Regions from separate parts of the Homo sapiens genome. Here region 1 is linked to region 2. Evidence: promoter capture Hi-C in human tissues and cell types (Jung and others, 2019). All regions are on one chromosome and are shown on one strand. Each heading gives the region's core, a stretch centred on a gene start or on the middle of the fragment in contact. The rest is flanking DNA. Distances are from core to core; before and after follow the strand shown.

Region 1 (7,641 bases), core at 835-3,334, 130 kb after region 2:
ACCTGGCTTTTTTCACTTAAAAGTATATCCCAGCCAATGGTGGTGGTGCACACCTGTAGTCCCAGCTACTTGGGAGGCTGAGGTGGGAGGATCCTTTGACACCAGCAGTTCAAGAGTAGCCTGGACGATGTAGTGAGACTGCATTTCTTTAAAAAAAGAAAAATAGATATATCCCAGAGACCACCAAAGTCTGTATTGGCTGCTATAACAATTTACCACAAGCTTGGTAGCTTAACAAAAATTTATTTCACGGTTCTCAAGGCCAAAAGTGCTAAATCAAAGTGTCACCAGGGCTACACTCTCTTCAAAGGCCCTAGGGGAGGATCCTTCCCGCCTCTTCCGGCTCTTGCTGCTGCTGACAATCCTTGGCTTGTGCAAGAAACATGACTCCAGTCTTGGCCCCATCGTGACATCACCGTTCTCTCTGCGTTTCTCCCTGTCTTCTCTCTATTACAAGAACATCTGCCATTGGATTTAGGGCCTACCCGGTTAATCCAGGATGATCGCATCTCCAGGTCTTTAATTACCTCCGCAAAGACTCTTTGCAAATAAGGTCACGTTCCCAAGTTCCAGGTAGACATATCTTTAGGCCCACCATTCAATCCACTATGATCTGTCCTCTGCATCCCCCCCCTCCAAATTCACATCCAACCCACAAGCAAAATACATTCACCCCATCCCCATATCCCCCAAAGGTATGTGTAAGTGTTCTTTTCATTTTACCTTTGCACACAACATTAGTGGATGTACCATTGTTTATTCAACCATCTTCTGGTTGTTTCTAGTCATACTATTAAAAATAATTGAACAGGCCGGGCGCGGTGGCTCATGCCTGTAATCCCAGCACTTTGGGAGGCCCAGGTGGGCAGATCATGAGATCAGGAGTTTGAGACCAGCCTGACCAACATGGTAAAACCCCATCTCTACTAAAAATACAAAAATTAGCTGGGCATGGTGGCGTGCACCTGTAATCCCAGCTACTCAGGAGGCTGAGGCAGGAGAATCGGTTGAACCTGGGGGGCAGAGGTGGCAGTGAGCCGAGATCGTGCCATTGCACTCCAGCCTGGGCGACAGAGCGAGACTCCGTCTCAAAAAATAATAATTCAACAATGAAAGTCTTCTGCAGACATCTTTTCACATTTTTGCCAGGGTTTCTTTTTTTATTTTATTGATAGAAACGGTATTGCCGTGTTGCCCATGCTGGTCTCCAACTCCTGGTCTCAAGCTATCCTCCTGCCTCGATCTCCCAAAGTGTTGGGATTTCAGGTGTGAGCCACCCTGCCCGGCCTTTGCCAGGGTTTTCGTGAGATACATCCCAAGAAGTGGGATCTCTGGGTCAACAGTAATGCATGCGGCATGTTGCTGGGTGTTGCTGCATTTTTCTCACGGGGACTTTGCCATTTTGTATTCTCACCAGCAATGTATGAGACAGTTCCCTCACAACCTCAGCAATAGAATGGTGTCACATTTGTGAGTCTTTGCCAGTTGCAGAGGTGAGAAAGCATCTCAGCACAATCAAAATTTGTGCTTATGAGCAAAGCTGCTTTAATTATAGAGGCTTGTTGGTAAGTTTTAATATCAGTTAGGGCTAGCCCTCCTTCCTTTCTTCTTTCTCAGGGCTTCCCTGGATATTCTTGCTTATTTGTTCTTTCAAATGAATTTTATAATTATCTTGTCTAGCTCCAGGGAAAAAAAATTATGAATCTACTGGAATTGCATTAAACGTACAAATTTGGGAGAACCGCAATCTTTATGATGTTGAATCCTCTTATCCAAGAGTGTATTTCCATTTGTCCAAGACTAATTTTGTGCCTTTCAGGAATGCTTTATAGTTTTACTCGTATGTATTTTGGATATTTCTTCATGAGTTTTTGTCTATTTTGTTTTCTGTCTTTGTCTGCATAAAGACAGAAAATAACAATAAGATAAATACACATACATGCAAGGCTATTTACCTTTTTTCAGACTTTGGTGGAAAAACTAGTGTTTCCCCATTAAATAAGATGTTGAGGCCGAGTGTGGTGTCTCATGCCTGTATCCCAGCATTTTGAGAAGCTGAGGTGGGAGGACCGCTTGAGCCCAGGAGTTCAAGACCAGCATGGGCAACATAGCGAGACCCCGTTTCTACAAAAAAAATACAAAAAGTTAGCTGGGCATGGTGGCATGTGCCTGTGGTCCCAGCTACACAGGAGGCTGAGCTTGAGCCCCAGAGGTCAAGGCTGCAGTGAGCCGTGTTCATGCCATTGCACTCCAGCCTGGGTGACAGAGTGAGACCCTGTCTTGAAGAAAAAAAGTGGCCGGGGCGGTGGCTCACGCCTGTAATCCCAGCACTTTGGGAGGCCGAGGTGGGCAGATCACGAGGTCAGGAGTTCGAGACCAGCCTGGCCAACACAGTGAAACCCCATCTCTACTAAAAATACAAAAATTAGCTGGGCATGGTGGCATACGCCTGCAGTCCCAGCTACTCGGGAGGCTGAGGCAGAAGAATCACTTGAACCCGGTAGGCGGAGGTTGCAGTGAGCCGAGACTGCACCACTGTACTCCAGCCTGGGTGACACAGTGAGAATCTGTCTCAAAAAACAAAAATGAAAAGCACAGGTTGTGGCTTGTGGTTCTGACCGACTGGCTATACAATGGGGGTTCCCATGACCCCCTCCTCAAGTTCACTGACATGCTAGAGTGGTCCCACAACTCAGGGAAACATGTTTAGCCATTTGTTATAAAGGATATTACCAAAGATACAGATGTACAGCCTGATGGAAGCGATGTGGAAGGTATGGAAGGCAAGGCACGGAGCTTCCATGCCCTTCCCTAGGCACCACCCTCCAGGAACCTCTGTGTATTCAGCTATCTGGAAGCCCACGGAAAACCCTGTCCTTTTGTGGGCTTTTGTTTGTTTGTTTGTTACTGAAGTTTTGTTTTTATTATACTTTAAGTTCTAGGGTACATGTGCACAATGTGCAGGTTTGTTACATATGTATACATGTGCCATGTTGGTGTGCTGCACCCGTTAACTCGTCATTTACATTAGGTATATCTCCTAATGCTATCTCTCCCCCCTCCCCCGACCCCACAACAGTCCCCGGAGTGTGATGTTCCCCACCCTGTGTCCATGTGTTCTCATTGTTAAATTCCCACCTATGAGTGAGAACATGTGGTGTTTGGTTTTTATGGAGGTTCCATTGCATAGGCATGATTGATTACATCATTGACCACTGGTGATAAACTCAAGCTTCAGCCCCTCTCCCCTCCCCGGAGGTCAAGGAGGTGGGGTTAAAAGTCCCCAATCTGTTATCTTGCCTTGGTCTTTCTGGTGACTGGTGACCAGCCCCTATCCTGAGGCTACCTAGGGCCCTCAGCTACCATCATCTCTTTCGCATACAAAAGACACTCATTACTCTGGATGTCTCAAAACAAACAAACAAAAAACCTTTTAGCCTGGGAATGGTGGCTAACACCTGTAATCCCAGCAGTTTGGGAGGCCAAGGCAGGTGGATCACCTGAGATCGGGAGTTTGAGACCAGCCTGACCAACATGGTGAAACCCTGTCTCCATTAAAATACAAAAATGTAGCCGGGCGTGGTGGTGGGCGCCTGTAATCCCAGCCACCTGGGAGGCTGAGGCAGGAGAATCACTTGAACCCTGGAGATGGAGGTTGCAGTGAGCTGAAATCATGCCACTGCACTGCAGCTTGGGCAACAGAGTGAAACTCTGTCTCAAAAACAAACAAACAAACAAAAGGCAAAAATAACTTTGAGCAATGCTACTGTGGCCAAATTTTACTTGTTGCAGTTGCTGTAGCAGAAAGAAGGCCTTTCCCTCCTGGCTACCTATGGGCACTCCCTGTCTTCTCTCTGGTCCACTCTTCCACAGTCCCCAACTTGAGCTAACTCCCACTTGTCCTTGGATAGCTTAACCATGACTTTCTCAAGGAGGCCGGAAGTGGTCTCCATCCCTGAAGAAATTTGGCCCCTCTGCTTTATGTACGTGTATGAGTTCGCTAGGCCTGCCGTAACCAAGTCCCACAGACTGGGTGGCTTCGACAACAGACATTGATTTTCTCACTGGAGGCTGGAAGTTCAAGATGAAGGCACTGGCAGGCTGGTTTCCCGAGGCCTCTCCCCTCAGCTTGCTGCCTCCTCACGTGGTCATCACTCTGCATGCATGACCCTGGGGTCTCCTTTTTTTTTTTTCATAGGGACACCAGTCAGATGGGACTAGGGCCCCACCCTAGCGGCCTGATGTGAAAACATAACCACTTCTTTAAAGAACTTATCTCCAAATATAGTCACATTCTGAGGTACTGGGGAGTTGAGACTTCAACATATGAATTTGGGAGTACATAATTCAACCCCTAGCGGTATTTTTCCACATCACTCAACACTTCTCTCATCAGGGATTCCCCACTCTTGATTGGGAAGACCTGTTTCATGACTGTCTTCCCCATGGACTGTAAGAGGGACTCAGCAGAGGGACACAGTCACTCCCGAGCGTGGCTGACCCTCGGGCCTTGCATTCTGCCTGGTGCAGACGGAGGGCTCCGTAAATAGGAATCGGATGAATCAATGAGCCAAGGCTCTGTTCGTTTCCAATGGCTGCTGTACTTAGCGGCTTAAAACAACACATATTCATCCTTTTCCTTTTCTGGAGGGTAGAAGTCTAAACTGGGTGTGAATGGGCTAAAATCAAGTGCCAGCAGGGCTGTGTTCCTTCCATAGGCTAGTGGAGAGATTCTGTTTCCTGGCCTCTTCCAGCTTCTAGAGGCCACTTGCATTTGTTCGCTTATGGCCCTATCCTCCATCTTCAAGGCCAGCAGTGTAGCAGCTTCAAATCTCCCTCTCTGATCTCTGCTTCCATTGCCAATCTTCTCTGACTCTGACCCTCCTGCCTCCCTTTTATAATGATCCTTGTGACGACACTGGGCCCACTGGGGCCACCCAGGATCATCTCCCCACGATCTTAGGATCCCTAATCTAATCACATCTGCAAAATCTCTTTTGTCACGTAAAGCAACATCTTCACAGGTCCTGGGAATAAGGGGGTGAACATCTTTGGGGAGGTCATTCTCCAGCCCACCCTAGAAGCACTGAGCTTTGAAGGGCCGGTTCCTGTATTCAGTATGTATGTACTCCGGCATGCATCTCAAGTTTTGCTTTGGAACAAGTGATCAGACGCTCCCCTCTTAGAAGATTCCCAGGCTCCTGGTGAAGTCCAACGGCAGAGGCTGCACATTCAGTGGCATTTGGAAGCATCTTGTCTGAGACCTGTGGCTAGAGGCACACGGCCTTCTGGAATCTGTGCCTTTCCATTGTTCCCACTAACAGACGCTCTGGCCAGATTGCTGTTTCTACCCTGCAATTACAGGCAGAATCCCATGAGTAATAAACACAAATTGTTTTATTGCAATGGAGTTCGTTTAAAAGAAATATTTTACTGCATCATCCAATAGAATTATCTGCAATGATGGAATTGTTTTATATCTGCGCTAAAATACCGTAGTGACAAGCCACATGTAGCTCTTGAGCATCTGACATGTGGCTAGTGTGACTGAGGGACTGAATTGGAACTTTTAAGTTAAATTCATTTTCATGTAAATAGTAACTGTGTCTAGTGGCTACCATAGAGCAGTGCAATTCTAGAAAAATCCCATTTCCAACCCAAGGCACCTGGACAAGGAGCAGCTTTTCTCAGAGGCCAGGTCCTGGGTGAGAAAAGCTGTTCACTGTCCAGGTGCAATAAGATAACTGACTTCTGTCTGTGCGTGGTGGAGATGCTGTCCAATGATGGCTATCGTGCATCAGTTTCCAGCTCCCCATTCAGTAGTTCGAAGCAAGGCATGGCAGGAGAATTTACACCAGGAGAATCAGCACAAGCTACAAATCAAGCCTCCCTCCCCATGCCCCACCCTTGGAGAGCTGGGTTATTTAACGATGACTGACATGCCACTGTGCATATGCCTACTGGAGGAGACAGGCCTACTGAATTGCCTTGGCAACATCTGAGTCTCCTGGCACTCACAGAGAAAAAGGAGACAGTGGCAGCTCCACAGTTCTTATTGTCAGAGAGGAAAAGCACCATATGGTTTTTTTAAGGGATGGCAACACTTCTCTTAGGCCTTAGAGCTACACGGGCTCTTTTCTCAGGCTTCCCAGCACAGACAATGTCCTTGACAACAACTCCACTCCACTGCAAAAGCAGAGGGATTTCAAAGCTGTTGTTTGTCACGTCAGTCAAGGCTGTCACTTTGGATCGATGTCAGGGCAATGGGGTCTGAGTTTGCAGCTTTTGGATGTCTGCTGAGATCTGTGAACACAGCCCAGAATGCCTAGAAAAGGCTGGATTGCATATTCTTATATCCCATGTCACTTACTTATTCCCCAAATCTTTTAGGATGCTGGCCATGTGCATAGCCCCCAGCTAGGTATGGAAGCAACTCATTCATTCATTCATTCATTCATTGGAGATGGTGTATTCAGGTGTAAAGGAGTTCAGGATACAAAGATAGATGAAATAGGGTCTTCACCTCCAGGTTTTATAAGATCCCCCATTTATAGAATAATTTACCAGATACTCAGGGCTGGAATTTGGAGGAGGTGAGGGAGGCACTTACCTTGGGTGCAAAACGTAAGAGGGCACCACAAAAATCAGTAATCAAGATAATATACTGGCCAGGCACGGTGACTCACGCCTGTAATCCCACCACTTTGGGAGGCTGAGGTGGGTGGATCACCTGAGGTCGGGAGTTTGAGACCAGCCTGGCCAACATGGCAAAACCCCGTCTCTACTAAAAATACAAAAATTAGCCAGGTGTGGTGGTAGGCACCTGTAATCCCAGCTACTCAGGAGGCTGAGGCAGGAGAATTGTTTGAACCTGGGAGATGGAGGTTGCAGTGAGGCAAGATCATGCCACTGCACTCCAGCCTGGGCGACGAGAGCAAAACCCCATCTCAAAAAAAAAAAAAAAAATATATATATATGTATATACACACACACATATATATGTATATATATACACACACACATATATATGTACATATATATGTACATATATAATTTATAAAATCAAAATTAGTGCAGAAAATTACAATGTACAAGATATGAACATTTTAAATAAGGACAGGCTGTTGTGGTTTGTTTCACTCCCCTTCAGTGTTGGGCAAGGGAGCATAGTCAATTCCAATCAGCGAGGGGTTACTTGGCCAGGAGGTATCTGAAGGGGAGGTTTATGTGGGTGCAAATAAATTGGGCCACGGGGAGCATTATACATAGTTTCTGTGCGTGTGTGTTTCGGTTGTAGGGTCTTTACTGACTTTTTTCACTTGGTTCAAAATACAAGAGGGTATCTTGATCACTGTATTTAGGGGTACACAACTTTTCTTGTGTCTCAAATTCTAATAATAAGGCACTGCTTGTGCTCTTTCCAGATCTCTCACTTACGTCTCACTCAGCTACAAGTGGTGGATACTATTACTCTTCCTCCTTCTCCTTGTTTTACAGAAGGGAAAAGTGGGGCTTGCAGAAGCTTGGCAAAATAGCACAGGCAGTAATACTGCAATACAGCCATGTAATACTTCAAGATGGTGTATGATTAAAGCGGTTGGCTGAGAACATTTGGGAAAATTTTAGTTCTGGTGTAACAAA
Region 2 (7,396 bases), core at 4,727-7,226:
AATTACACATTTGAGCCCAGGAGTTTGAGACAAGCCTGGGCAACATAGTGAGACTCCTTTTCTACAAATATATATATAAACCGGGTGTGGTGGTGCATGCCCGTAGTCCCAGCTACTCAGGAGACTGAGGTGGGAGAATCACTTGAGCCTGGGAGTTGGAGGCTGCAGAGAGCCGTGATCGCAGCACTGCACTCCAGCCTGGATAACAGAGTGAGGCCCTGTCTCAAAAAAATAATAACAATACATTATACATATCTCATAGGGTTTTTTTGACCTCAGCACTGGTGTCATTTGGGGCAGATCATTCTCTGGTGCTGGGCTGTTGTGGGCACTGCAGGATGTGTGCCAGCATCTCTGGCCTTACCCACTAAATGCCAGGAACCCCAGTCTCCCAGTTGTGCCAAGCAAACATGTCTCCAGGCATTGCCAAATGTCCCCTGGGGGACACCATCACCCGCCCCCCCAGTTGAGTCACTGATTATATAACAATCATCTTGGTTACCTGTGTCCAGAAATGGTTCCATTCATGTTACAAGAGAGGCTAATTTTAATGCTAGTGTCACCAAATGAAAAACAAAGATTGCTCATTTCTGAGTGAGATAAATTTTCCTTCTTGTCTCTGCAAGCCTGAGACTTCTGAGCTGCTCTGCCTGGCTCATAAAGCAGAGGTCTGTAGTTTTAAGGATCTGTTTTTCCAAATACACAGGGGACCAGAGCTCTAATCCTAAATAAGAGAGAAGCCAGCCAGGAGGAAGTATCTTGTAGTGTGCTGGCTCACGGCTGCTGCCTCTTCCTAAAATTATGGTGTGCTTAGAATACATTTTGAATTGGCCCCTTCACATTTTGTGGAACAGAACCCATGGGAAGGGGAGGAAAATAAGTAAAAGTGTAAGGCTGGAAGAGGAGACCTGGAGACGAAGGAAGTGAGTGGCTCTGAGTTTTCTAAGTTTGGGAGAGAAATTGGTCTACATTTTTAAAAAATCTGAATTTTAATCACCCAGGCACAAATGCAACGTGCTTAAAGCATGACAGCCATTCACTGATTCCAAGGATGATGTTGTTTTGTGATGCGCATCCAGACACGGGAATTAAGCGCTAAAATGAACCAAACGCAGACTGGCAGGTTTATCCACACAGTGGACGCTTTGGGAATACCCTGCCTGTCTTTGGAGTGGAAGATTAGGACATGAGAAAAACCTGAATTTTCAAAATGGACGCATCTACACAAATCAAGGAAGTCCCAGTTGAGAAAAGTGCCCCCCGTCCACACACGAAATCTAAACAGTGACTTTTTTTAATACAAGTCAAATAAGTGTCTAAAGTTTACGTCTTTACATAAAGCCATGAAATAAAACACCAAGAAATAACCTCACCCTGTCCCCATTCCAACTCCTGAGCCTGGGGAGGGTCCCCTTAGGGATCTTTGCAATTTACCCTTCCTTTGATGCCCCTAAACCAGCAAGACAGGAATGAACAAGAACAACATCTAATCTCCTCCAGTGCTTGTGGATTTGCATTATTTAAATATATGAGAAACACCCATAATTGAGTAATTATTCTAGCATTTAAAGAATGCCAAACAATGAACCATTTCTTCTTCAGACCTAATCCGGCCCATTTCCGTTTTCCTCTTAGCACAATGTGTAGAATTACCCAATGTGTCGCTTCCTAGAACACTTGATTGTTTATACAAGGTAGGCAAGACTTCTCTGGCGGTGTTTATTTTTCTCATTTTACACTTGATGATTGTAGCCTTTACAGATTTTCCTTTTCTAGACGCTTATCAAGTACTGAATGTGTATGGATCCAATTTTGCACTTTCCTTTTTACAAATAAAGCTTATCCTTTAGGCGAGGGCTGGGGAGAGAAGGCAGAATCTGATAGTAAAAATCTTCAGACTCTGTCCTTGTTGGAGTTACTCCTTAACCATCATTTTAAGGAAAGTATTCTGCAAGTTAGAGATCAGTGCATTGTAACAGCTTCAGAAAGGGGATTTCCCAGAGGGTCTGGGAGGAGAACAAAAGCATTTGCATCTCCTTTCCCCAGAGACTAAGTGGATTTTTCCTGAGCTGCTTTTCCATGTGAAGTCTTGGTGGGAGGATGGAGCACTACACAATGTTCGTGCTTTTGCTGTTGGCCCGGCTGTGGTTTTAATGCGGAGGAAATAAAGAATGTAGAATTGTGCATTCAGTTAGGACTCAAGACTCCTTCGCCCTGCAGTGTTTTGTGTGTGTGTGTGGTTTTTAGTCCGATGTGGAAAGCCCCACTTGACTGTAAGAAAGACAGGCCTTATTCTAACAATTCACACACACACACACGCACACACACGCACACACACACACACAAAGAGAGAGAGAGACAGAGAGAGAGAGAGAGAGAGAGAGAGATCGATCCCAATTTATGGCAAAGCTGGGAAGTCAAGAGTCCCTTCACACCCCTACCAATTTCTCTTCCTTTCCATCTCCATTCACAAGTCTTTAGGGACCATCAGCAAACGCCTGGGGCTAACATTGCACACAAGTGGAAAAGGACTAATGGTGTAATAAAGAGGTCTTGGTCACCCCAAGCGCTGGCCTCTTCCTCTCTGGTTCAGCTCCTTTTAGGAAGACAAATGCAATAGCCCCACTTCTGTTCTCTCAGGCAGAGAGTGTCCAGAGGCAGTGGCTGGGCATGTGGATGAAGTTTTCTCAGTGAGGGTCTCCAATCTCTCTTCTCTGGCATGCTGTGTCACACTTCTTTTGCCTCTATTAATGTGCAAATGAAAGTAGGAATGCCTCTAGATGTTTTGGTGATTAAATGAGCTCGTATTTGCTAAGTGCTTAGATGACAGTAAGTGTGCAGGAGCCTATCTTAGGTCAGGCTCTTTAGAAAGGGTGCCTGAGACGGGGGTTCTCGAGTGAGCGGCTGATTGGAGGCATGCTTACACGAGTAAGGGAGGCGGGACCGGGCAGGGGAGGAGCTGGCAAAGCTATGATTTCCAGAGAAGTACAGCCTCAGCCTGATCCCATGGGGGATCCCATGGGGAGCTCTGGGGTGTCAAGGGCATTCGAGTTTGTGTCACCAAGGCAAGGAAACTGGACGGTCAGCTCCTGGGGCTGGGTGTAATCTCTCAGACATCTGTGTTAATGAAGGGTCATCTTCACAATACTCCAAAAGAAGGGAGCCCGCCCCAGCATCTGCTATACAAGTAAACAATTTCATGACAGCAGCTCCATGTGCCAAGGGGCAAGAGCTCAGAACTTGGGAATCTGAACATCTGAGCCTCAGTTTCCTCATCTGAGGCACCTTCCCTTTGGTCTCACAAAGCCTCCCACGAGTCCCCAAATTGAGGTTGGCACCCTGGCTTCATTTGTTGACAAGTGACAATTGTATTACAAGGGCCTATTTCTATGTTTAGTCCCCAAGGGAGTGCAAGCTGAAGCACAGACTATCCTCTTCCCTGCAGCATGCCTACACGCAGCACAGTGTCTGCGCGTGGGAGGTCCACTATTTGCTGCCCGCCTGAACGGGTAGAAATCTTTCACCTTCAGTGAAGACTCCTCGGCGCTGGCCTCTTTGAGCTCCTAATTGGATGCAGTTTCCCCCACTCCTTGCTCTACCTGATGCTTTTTTCATCTTGCCTTTCCTTCTGAGTCCTTTGATGTGTGGTGTATGTGTTCTCCTCTTTCCACTCTCTCTCTGCAGAAGTCGGTTTCACTCCAATACGCCCCAGCCCCATTCAAAGTACTTTCGAGTGATAGATTTGTGTCCAGATTTGTGAGATTCTAAAAGGACCAGGTGACAGGGAGGGTGGAAATGCAGCTTCAGAACGGCCATGTTGGGTGGTAAGGTAAGAAGGCAGTGGCAGCCCCACTGGCGATAAATCATGCCAATCGGAAGGGAAGATGTCAGAGCAGGGACACTCAGCACTTGGGGCATTCCCTGGCACATGCGACATCACAAAATATGTGCTTTTTTGACCCTCCCACTCTTTCCCTTGGACATGTAATAATCACACATGTTTAAAAGGACTCATGCGGTGGAATTTCTCACATAGAACATTCAGGTAGGGGTAGATAGATACTTGGGGAGCAAGAAAGTTTCTGTGTTGTAGTAGGAGGAGGGAGAGGAAAGACCTTCCTTGGATAGTTTTTTGGACGTCGCTATACCTTCACAACTTCACATTCTTCTTCTTCTTCTTCTTCTTTTTTTTTTTTTTTTTTTTTTTTTGAGACAGGGTCTCTGTTCCATCGCCCAGCCTGGAGTGCAATCGTGCAAACACGGCTCACTGCAGCCTCGACCTCCCTGGCTCAAGTGATCCTCCCACCTCAGCCTCCCAAAGTGTTGGGATTAAAGGTGTGAGCCACCGAGCCCGGCCCCACATTCTTCTAATTTTTTTTTTGTTGTTGTTGAGATGGAGTCTCACTCTGTCGTCCAGGCTGGAGTGCAGTGGCGCGATCTCAGCTCACTGCAACCTCCCAGGTTCAAGCAGTTCTCCTGCCTCAGCCTCCCGAGTAGCTGGGATTACAGGCGTGCGCCACCATGCCCGGCTAATTTTTGTATTTTTAGTAGAGACGGGGATTTCACCATGCTGGCCAGGCTCGTCTCGAACTCCTGACCTCGTGATCCGCCCGCCTGGGCCTCCCAAAGTGCTAGGATTACAAGCGTGAGCCACCGCGCCCGGCCCATTCTTCTTTTTTAAAACAACCTTTCCCCTCATAAAAGTAATATTACCATTTTACAAAAAATTGGAAGGCAAATCATTTTTAAAAATCCCGCCAAAGGAATGCAAACTCTTGTGAGCATTTCAGGACATTTTCCTCCAGTCTCTTCCCCTGTGTATCTGGATTTCAATCAGGCTCTACCAGATATTTTTGTATCACTGTAACTGTTTAAAAATCTCCCTGATACTGTCCTGCATTTCCTGGCATAACGTGTTGCGGCTGTGGGTCTGGGGCACGAAGTAGGTGGGAGATTTAGAGCAAGACACAGCCCCAACTCTGGAGCTTCAGCTTCCCCAGCTGGGAGCCAGTGAAACAGAAGTTCCCGTCTAGGCTGAAAGTTTTAGGAGTTGACCCGGCTTCCTCCCCAGCAATGGTCTACTTGGGTCTCCGCTCAAACGATCAGACCCCACAAACCGGATGAAGCGCTCAGGGAAGGTCAAGGAACTCCCGCCTAGTGTGGGCCCCCAGGTTAGCCCTTCTAGGGCTGTCCTGGCGGGGACGCAAAGTGGCCACCTGCCCAGCTGCCCGCTTCCAGAGGCGTCCTCCCTGCGCCGCCCGAGAGGACCGGCCGCGGGCTCCCCCAGCTCCTCAGCTCCCTCGGCCCCGCCTTCAGGGGCTTTTCCCACCTTCGCGGGACCAGACGGGTTGTGTGGGAGACCGAGGGCGCAGCCTCCCGCCAAGTGCGCAGAGGGTCTCCAGACAGCCAGAGCCCGGGAGCGGGTGAAGGGAGGGCACTGCCCGCTCTCTCGGGAATTGTTTGCGCCCGAGGAGTCACCCCAGGCAGGCCGCGCCCGCAGTCCGGGTAGGGCGTCGTCCTCCCCGCCCGCCTTCCTCTACGCGGGGGCCCGGGGGCGGACTGACGCGGCGGCGCCCATCCTGGCCTCCATGCGGTTTCCCGAGGCCGGAGGAAGGTGGCGGAGCGGGAGGGAGAGAGCGAGGAGCGCGCGGAGAGGGAGGACGGCGGAGGGGGAGGAGCAAGCGGAGGGGTGGGGGTGGGGTCGAGGAGCCGAGCGCCGAGGAGGACCCCGAGGGAGACTGGGGGCGGAGCAGCCGGCGACGGAGAGGCGCGGAGGACGCGGGGCCGGGGGAGGCGGAGCAGCGGGAGTGGGTGGAAAAGCAGAGGCGGCGGGAGGAGCGGGAGCCTCCGTGGGAGATTCGGGAGGAGCAGCCGGCGTGGGTGGAGCCGCCGGCGTGGGAGGAGCCGCGGGGCCTGGGTGAGAACGGGGCGGGACGGCCGGAGGCGGGGCCTGCGAACGCCCTGCCCCTGCTCGCCCGGGCCGCGCCGAGGAACGAAGATGGCCGGGCGCGCCGCGGGAACGGAGGGGCGGCCGGCAGCGGCGGCGGCGGCGGCGGCGGCTCCCGGGCTGTGACTTCGCGCGCGGCGGCCACCCGGGCTACCTGAACGGAGTGGGCGGCGCGGGCAGCGGCTTGCTAGGGCGGGCGGGCGGACGCCGGTGCACGGGCGCCGGGCGGAGGATGCGCCAGGAGCGGCGGGCGGCTCCCCGCGGCCGCCCCCGCGCCCCGGGCGCCGGGCCTTAGTGCTGGCGGAGGAGGCGGCGCGCGCGGGGCGGCCGGGCGGCGGCGGGGCCCGCGCCGTCATGCCTTGGCTGAGCGGCGGCCGGCGGCGACGGCGGGGACAGCCGCGCGAGGCCCCGCGGGAGCCGCCGCCTTCTGCGCAGCCCCAGCGGGAACCGCGCCGCCGGCGCCCCCCGCCGCGGTCCCCACGCCCCCAGCTCCTTCCGCGCCGCCGCCGCGGGCCCGGGAGAGCGCCGAGCTGCCGCTGCCCGCCGGCTGGGAGGAGGCGCGAGACTACGACGGTCGCGTCTTTTACATTGACCACAACACGCGCCAGACGTCGTGGATCGACCCCCGCGACCGGTAAGCGGGCCGGCTGGGGGCGCCAGACCCGGCGCGGGCGCTACGACCCGGGCCGCCGGCCGGCGCCACCGCGGATGCGCTGGGGACACGCCCCGCCCAGCGCGGGGCCGCCGCCGAGAGCCCCCGGGCCCGGGCAGAGCTCGGAGCGCCTCCATCCCCGGAACCAGGGGACTCCCTGGAGTGCTCCGGTCCAGGCTACGATCGAGGCGCCCCCATCCCTTGGGCCCAGGGAGAGGATCGGAGACACCAGGAGGCCCTCGGGGCTGGGTGAAGATCTTTGGTTCCGGGGGTCCGGGAGAGGATCCACCCTCCCAATACCCCGACTCCCAGGGCTCTGACCAAGAATGGAGGTGCCCCTTCTCCAGGCCTCGAGCCCTCTGAGCGCCGAGGCCGGCCGCCTACAGGTCCCCCGCCGCTGGGCGGACCCTCTCATTCGGTTCCCTCACGTCACCCGCTGTCCGGCGCCTGGGAACTGGGCTCCTGGAATTTCCTCTCCTGGGGCTGACAGATGGCCCTCTTTTCCTTTCTCTGCGGCAGCCTCGCCCATCCCGGTCCCGGGCGTCTGCGGCCCACTGCCCCGGCCCTGGTTCTGCAGGTGTCCCCAGCCCCGCGGTGGCGAGATGAGCTGTCACCTTGGATCACAAACGTGCGCCCCAGCTTTGGGGTGCGGGTTCCCTGTCTGGCGGGTTCAGGCTGGTTTCCATCCAAAACCTGATGTCAGACGGGCCCTTGAGGGATTCCCAACCCTTTTGGAGTTGGAGAAGTCTGTTCCCAAACTCTAGTTGCTCTTTAGCGCCTTAAAACTCGTGAGTTAA

The links. The method cuts DNA at HindIII sites, captures the fragments that hold promoters and counts their contacts. A contact is called where the count stands out against the background at its distance.
Region 1: a fragment that was not itself captured here is called in contact with the fragment with the promoter of WWC3 in region 2 in 1 of the 25 tissues and cell types used here (hippocampus).

What each region holds. Positions count from the first base shown.
Region 1 is chrX:10,146,156-10,153,796 of GRCh38, forward strand. No RefSeq gene overlaps it. Among named protein-coding and RNA genes, the nearest start is that of CLCN4, 7.0 kb to the right of the region's middle. The HindIII fragment of the contact is 6,586 bases long and covers 1-5,377 here.
Region 2 is chrX:10,009,278-10,016,673 of GRCh38, forward strand. WWC3 (WWC family member 3) reads left to right here and starts at 5,977. Exons shown (of 24, transcript NM_015691.5): 1 at 5,977-6,396; 2 at 6,399-6,581. The coding sequence starts at 6,302. RefSeq lists enhancers at 4,092-4,975, 4,976-5,859 and silencers at 5,680-5,849, 5,890-5,949. The HindIII fragment of the contact is 13,767 bases long and covers 1-7,396 here.